Linked DNA regions of Homo sapiens: region 2 is linked to region 1. Evidence: promoter capture Hi-C in human tissues and cell types (Jung and others, 2019). All regions are on one chromosome and are shown on one strand. The core of a region is centred on a gene start or on the middle of the fragment in contact, and the rest is flanking DNA. Distances in the headings are between cores, read along the strand shown.

Evidence for each region. Contacts are between HindIII fragments. The study calls those that stand out against the background at their distance.
Region 2: a fragment that was not itself captured here is called in contact with the fragment with the promoter of SLC7A6OS in region 1 in 1 of the 25 tissues and cell types used here (dorsolateral prefrontal cortex).

What each region holds. Positions count from the first base shown.
Region 1 is chr16:68,309,054-68,312,663 of GRCh38, reverse strand. SLC7A6OS (solute carrier family 7 member 6 opposite strand) reads left to right here and starts at 1,718. Exons shown (of 5, transcript NM_032178.3): 1 at 1,718-1,929; 2 at 2,051-2,329. The coding sequence starts at 1,738. It overlaps PRMT7 (protein arginine methyltransferase 7), which reads right to left and starts at 1,645. Exons shown (of 19, transcript NM_019023.5): 1 at 1,565-1,645; 2 at 488-622. RefSeq lists an enhancer at 1,749-2,713. The HindIII fragment of the contact is 13,375 bases long and covers 1-3,610 here.
Region 2 is chr16:68,031,309-68,034,918 of GRCh38, reverse strand. The region is part of intron 2 of DUS2 (dihydrouridine synthase 2); the gene reads right to left. Among named protein-coding and RNA genes, the nearest start is that of DUS2, 9.8 kb to the right of the region's middle. The HindIII fragment of the contact is 8,004 bases long and covers 1-3,610 here.

The DNA of each region.
Region 1 (3,610 bases), core at 469-2,968:
TCTCCAAGAGTTGTAAACTTGCATGGCCATTTACAAGGAGGAAATAGAAACCACCATGCCAAGCCCTAATTGTATTAGCCGTCAGACTGCAGAGCAGATGGTCCACTACATTCATTCAAAATGTATTTGCTAGGCGGTGGTGGCTCACACCTGTGATCCCAGCACTGTGAGGGGCCGAGACGCAAGGATATCGAGTCTGGGAGTTCCAGACCAGCCTGCGCAACATAGTGAGACCCCGTTCTCTACAAAAAATTTTTAAAAAAATTAGCCGGGCGCGGTGGCCTGTGCCTGTAGTCCCAGTTACTCCCAGCTACTCGGGAGGCTGAGGTAGGGGAATCACTTGAGCCCGGGAGGCAGAGGTTGCAGTGAGCAGAGATGGCGCCACTGAACTCCAGCCTGGGTGACAGAGTGAGACCCTGTCTTAAAAAAAAAAATATATATATATATATATATATATAAATATACATATATTAAAATTAAAAATTACCCGAGTGTAGTGGCGCGTGCCTGTAGTCCCAGCTACTCGGTAGGCCGAGGTGAGGATCGCTTGAGCCCAGGAGGTCAAGGCTGCAGTGCGCCTCGATCACACCACTGCACTCAGCCTAGGCAGCAGAGTGAGACTCTGTCTCGAAAAAATAAAATAACAAAATTTATTAAATACCTTCTATGTGCCAGGCACTATATTAGGGACTGGAGCCACCACCACAAGCTAGAGAAGACCCTTGCCCTCCAAGAGCTTAGACTCTAATGAGAGAGTAATACAAATTACAGACTACATGAATGCAAGAAATACACAGAGCGTTGTAGAAAGAGAAAACCAAGGTTACAGAAGGACTCTGAGGAAACTAGCATTTGAGATCTACAAGACAGACCGGGATAAAAGTTGGGGAAGAGTTTTTACAGGTCAGGAATCCTTACCCCAACTTTCCCAAGAAAAGGCCCTAAGGTAGAAAGAACTAGGTTGCATAAGCAAAATGTGCCAAAAGCCTGAGCGACCGAAGCACTTTTGCAGAAGCCCCCCGCTCCTCATCTCCTATCACATCTTCTGCTCAATCAAGCTGGGCCTTGTCGACTTCGGAAAGGCGTTTGGATTTTGTTCTAAAAGCACTGGGAGCCACTCAAGAGTTTTAAGCAGAAGCGTATCTACACTAGGCTTACGCTTTTACAGGACCACTCTGGTTGGCGTGTAGTGAATACACGACTCTCCAATTACTCAGAACAGTGAGTGGCAAAGACAACAGGTCTGGCAATCAGAGAACTCGTGGCCCAGTTAGGGGTGCGATGGTTGGAGCTACTGCGGTCTCTGTGGCTGAGGGGAGGCGCCAGGCACGAGTACTGCGACAGAGCCCCGCGAGTGGCAGGCACCCGGCTGCACTGCAGAGCCGGGGCCAGCCTAGAACCCCGCTCTCCTGCAGGCCCGGGTGTCCCGAGCTGCCCCACGCGGAGGAGTCCAAGTAGGCCCACGCTAGGCTCCTCTGCCGAAACCCTGGTGCCAAGGACACCATGCTCGCTGCACACAGAACCCCAAAGCGACCCCACCTTCCCAGCATACCCAGCGCCTCACCCGCCGCGGGAAACCCTCCGCTCGCCTCCGCTGCTACCACTTTTACCGCGGCCAGCACGCGGGGCGGGACCTCGCAGCGTCGAGGAGCGTGCTGGGGGGCGGGTCCTAAAGCAGAACTGGAAAGCTATCCCATCACACCCCGCGAGCTCCCACAGTGCTCAGCGGCAGCCACTATGGAGGCCGCCAGGACCGCTGTACTCCGGGTGAAGCGGAAGCGCAGTGCGGAGCCGGCGGAGGCTCTTGTGCTCGCTTGTAAACGCCTCCGGAGCGACGCGGTCGAGTCAGCGGCACAGAAGACGTCGGAGGGTTTGGAGAGAGCGGCGGAGAATAATGTCTTCCACTTGGTGGCCACTGTGTGCTCCCAGGTATTGGGCGTGGTGCAGCTGGTGTGGAGGGCATCTTCGGGTGCAGCCGGTACGAAACCCGATCCCTGACCCGCTCGCGAACTCCTGCTTACGCTGGCCTCCGTCCCCTGTTGCCCCCTAGGAGGAACCAGTCCAGCCTCTCCTGCGGGAAGTTCTGCGCCCGTCACGGGACAGCCAGCAGCGTGTCCGCCGTAATCTCCGCGCCTCGGCTCGGGAGGTCCGGCAGGAGGGCCGCTACCGGGTGCTTTCCAGCCGCCGATCCTTGGGGACCACCTCGAGCGGCCAGGAGTCCGAGTACACGCCGGGGAACCCAGAAGCCGCCGGGAACTCGGGCTTTCAGTTGTTAGACCTTGTCCACGAGGAGGGAGAACCTGAAGCCGCCTCTGCAGGCTCCTGCAAAGTGAGTATGCCCCTGAAGGTGGTCGCTGGGCTTCTCAGGATGGTAATGCAAGAAGACTGGGCCCAGTCGCAGCACAGTTTCATCTTAAGGGGATGGATGATCCATCCGGCGTGACGGCCTCATTTTACAGATTTGGTTGTTCATCCAACATGTGTTTACTACGTGCCTACGATATGCCAGGTATTTTTTTAGATTCTGTGGATACAGCAGTGAGGACCTAACATGCAGGTAGACAGAAACAGTAAACAAGTCTATTCAGTGTCAGATGATGATAAGGGATGTAAGGAGGCGGGGAGACAAAGCAGGAAGAGTGGTGCCACTTCAGTGAGAGTGTCACTGAGGAAATGACATTTGAGTGAAGACTTGCAGAAGGTGAATGGCAGGGTATTCCACATATCGAGAGGACTTCTAGGCAGAGAACCTGAAAGTAAAGAGGCCCTTAAGCCGTTTCTTTGCTCCTTGCAAGGTGCCTGGAGCCCGGTGAGCTAGAGGAGAGCAGTAAGGAATTTGAGGGGAGGATGCCTGCTAGGTACTTGCAAGGACATTGCCTTTCACCCTGACTGAGATGGGGATCACTGGAGCAAAATAGAGATAGAGCAGGTAGGAAAATTGATCAAAGAGAGGTTAAAGGAATAGTCCTGGATAGCATATCAAGTTTGAGGTAGATTTAGGTCTAGAATGCAAGTTTTCTCACATTTAATCCAGTGCTTTTCTTTATATTACATTTGCTAACTTCATTTGCAATCACTTCCAAAAAAAGTCTACTACATGCAGCAAAACTACAGAAATGGAAAATTCTCCTTGAGGCTGGGCACAGTAGCTGACGCCTAATCCTAGCACGTAGGGAGGCCCAGGCGGGAGGATCACTTGAGCCTGGGGAGGTCAAGGCTACAGTGAGCCATGATTGTGCGGCAGTGGCATTTCAGCCTAGGTGACAGAGTGAGACCCTGTCTCAAAAAAAAATAAAATACTCCCTGTAATCCCAGCGCTTTGGGAGGCTGAGGCAGGAGGGTCGCTTGAGGCCAGCCTGGGCAACAAAGCAAGACCTTGTCACTACAAAAAGGAAGAGGAAATTAGCTGGGCATTGTGGCACGCGCTTGTAGTCCTAGCTACTGGGGAGGCTGGGGCAGGAGGATCACTTAAACTCAGGAATTAGAGATTGCAGTGAGCTGTGATCAAGTCACTGCCCTCTGGTTTGAGCAACAGAGCAAGATACTGTCTCTAAAAAAAAAACCAGAAAATTCTCAACATAAAGTGTGCCCTCTCTTTTTTTTTTTTTTT
Region 2 (3,610 bases), core at 665-3,164, 280 kb after region 1:
AGCAATTCTTCTGCCTCAGCCTCCCGAGTAGAGTAGCTGGCACTACAGGCATGCGCCACCATGCCCAGCTAATTTTTGTATTTTTAGTAGAAATGGGGCTTTGCCATATTGGCCAGGCTGGTCTTGAACTCCTGACCTCGTGATCCGCCCACCTCGGCCTCCCAAAGTGCTGGGATTACAGGCATGAGCCACCATGCCCAGCCTAATATGATTTATTCTAACCAAATATGGTCTCCTCTAAACAGTCACAAAGAGGCCAGGCATGGTAGCTCATGCTATAATTCCAGTGCTTTGGGAGGATGAGACAGATGGATTGCTTGAGCTCAGGAGTTTGAGACAAGCCTGGACAACATGGCAAAACTCCATCTCTACCCAAAAATAATAAAAAAATAAATAAAATTAGCTGGGGGTGGTGGCACATGCCTATAGTCCCGGTTACTTGGGAGGCTGAGGTGGGCGGATTGCTTGAGGCCATGAGTTCAACACCAGCCTGACCAACATAGCAAAATCCCATCTTTACAAAAAATAAAAATAATAAAAAGACAGGCAATGGCTCACGCCAGTTATCTTAGCACTAAGGAGGCCATGGTGGGGAGATCGCTTGAGTTGGAGATGGGAGATCAGCTTGGAGTTGGAGATTAGCCTGGGTAACATGGCAAGACCTCATCTCTACAGAAACATAAAAATTAGCCAGGAGTGGTAGTGCATGCCTGTAGTACCAGCTCCTAGGGAGGCTGAGGTGAGATCACTAGAGCCTGGGAGGCAGAGGTTGCCGAGCTGAGCTGATATCATACCACTGCACTCCAGCCTGGGTGACAGTGAGACCCTGTTTGAAAATAAAAATAAAACTAGGCCAGGCAAGGTGCCTCACGCCTATAATCCCAACACTTTGGGAGGCCAAGGTGGACAGATTGCTTGAACTCAGGAGTTCAAGATCAGCCTGGGCAACATGGTGAAACCCCATCTCTACAAAAAATGCAAAAATTGGGCTGGGCACGGTGGTTCATGTCTGTAATCCTAGTGCTTTGGGAGGACGAGGTGGGTGGATCACTCGAGGTCAGGAGTTCAAGACTAGCCTGGCCAATATGGTGAAACCCCATCTCTACTAAAAATACAAAAATTAGCCAGACGTGGTGGCATGCGCCTGTAATCCCAGCTACTCAGGAGGCTGAGGCAAGAGAATCACTTGAACCCAGGAGATGAAGTGAGCTGACATTGTGCCACTGCACTCCAGCCTGGGTGACACAGCAAGACTCTATATAAAAAAAAAAAAAAAAAAAAAAATTAGCACCTGTAGTCTCAGCTACTTGGGAGGATGAAGTTGGAGGATCACTTGGGCCTGGGAGGTTGAGGCTGCAGTGAGCCATGATCATGCCACTGCACTCCAACCTGGGTGACAGAGCAAGACCCTGTCTCAAAAAAAATTTTTTTTTAATTTTTAAATAAAAATAATTTTAAAAAGAAATAATCTCTGATCCAAGGTCTAAAGGAAGAGAACATGTTAACCAGTCCAATATGTAGAAAGAAAATCTTTCCCATTTCATTAATAGCATCTCCAGTCTCCCAATTACTCATTCTTAACCCACATTCCCCACATTCAATCCATCACTGACTTCTATTGAAATAACCTTCAAAATATAACTAACCCACATGCTTTACTACATGCCAATGGCCACAACTGCGCACCAGAAACCCTCCGCTCATCTGTTGCCAGGACTTTAGCACAGCCCCCAAATGTGTCTCCCAAAATCTACACTTGCCCCTTCCTATCCATTCTGCCAGCATGGGATCCTAAAAAGGCAACTCTGATAATACCACTCCCCCGTTTATACCTTTCAATGGCTTCCCACTGACTTTAGGAAAAATCCTAAACCTTTCTAATGGCCCACAAGGCCCTGCATGATCAGTCCCTACCCACCTCTCCAGCCTCACCCTCACCTGTGTCTCTCTCACCCTCCCTCTCGGCCCTGGCCACCCTGGCATTCCCTTTTTTTTTTTTTTTTTTTTTTTGAGATGGAGTCTCACTCTGTTGCCCAGGCTGGAGTGCAGTGGCGCAATCTTAGCTCACTGCAACCTCCACCTCCCAGGTTCAGCCTCCTGCCTCAGCCTCCCGAGTAGCTGGGATTACAGGCACCCACCACCACACCCAGCTAACTCCTGACCTCAGGTGATCCACCCACTTTGGCCTTCCAAAGAGCTGGGATTACAGGTGTGAGCCACTGTGCCCGGCCACCCTGGCCTTCCTTTAAAGTCTCCCACACCAAACTGTCTGCTTCCCTGGGGCCTGCCCACTTGCAGTTCTGTCTGGAATACTCCTCCAACTCAGTCATGCATGCCCATGCTAAGGTCCCCTTGTCCTTGAATGCCCCCTTTGTGAAGATACGTCCCTACAGAAAATCAAATTCAGGTCCCTGGTCCCATGCTTTCCAAACACCCTACATTTCTCTGCAGCTCAGTTACACTCCATGTGTCCACACTGACTGCTGTAGTTTCTTGTTCAATCCTCAGCTCCTCCTGGAGACCACCAGGACAACAAGCTCTACAAGAACAGGAGTGTGGCTGCTTAGTTCACTGCCAGATTTCTAGCACTGAGCCAGGTACATGACCTTTAGAGGCTGCTTAGTAAGGTGTGACTGAATACTTACCACTGTGGTAGCCAAGAGGACAGCCTCTTGTAGGGTGGTTGGTCTGGCAACTTCCTCTGGCACTCAGTCAGAGGTGCCTGACACACCCTGCCTCTAAGGAGGCTCCTCTGAGAAAAACTAGGCAGCCCCCATGCCTTTCCCAGTTACTGCCACAACCACTCACCCCACCCTGAGATCACACCCACATCACCACTTTAGTCACTCATTTCCAATCTCTTCTACCATTCCTTTTAAGGGCTGGTCTCCTCTATTACGCTCAATTTCTTAGACAGTAACCTTGGCTGGGCGAGGTGGCTCATGCCTATAATCCCAGCACTTTGGGAGGCCAAGGCAGGAGGATCACCTGAGATCAGGAGTTCCAGACCAGCCTGGCCAACATGATGAAACCCTGTCTCTACTAAAAATAAAAAAATTAGCCAGGCATGGTGGTGTGCACCTGCAATCCCAGCTACTCGGGAGGCTGAAGCAGGAGAATCACTCAAACCAGGGAGGCAGAGGTTGCAGTTAGCCAAGATCGCACCACTGCCCTCCAGCCTGGGCAACAGAGTGAGATTCCATCTCAAAAAATAAAAAATAATAACCTTAACTTCAGTTACATGGACATAATATCCTGTTAACCTTAAAAAAAAAAGACATTAAAGAAAAATACCTCCAAACATGTTGAGTTTATTTGAGAATGAGAGAAAAGGATTATAATCCAGGATGCACAGAAGGGCAAGCCACAAGTACATCTGGTGACAGAAGGGGAAAAGGAAGCTTTTATTGGCAGAAAGGGAGAGATTTATATAAGTTGCTTAGAAACAGAGTTCATGGCCAGACACAGTGGCTCATGCCTGTAATCCTAGCACTTTGGGAGGCCAAGGCAGGCGGATCACGAGGTAAAGAGATCAAGACCATCCTGGCCAACATGGTGAAACCCCGTCTCTACTAAAAATACAAAAATTAGCTGGGTGTGGCGGCGCATG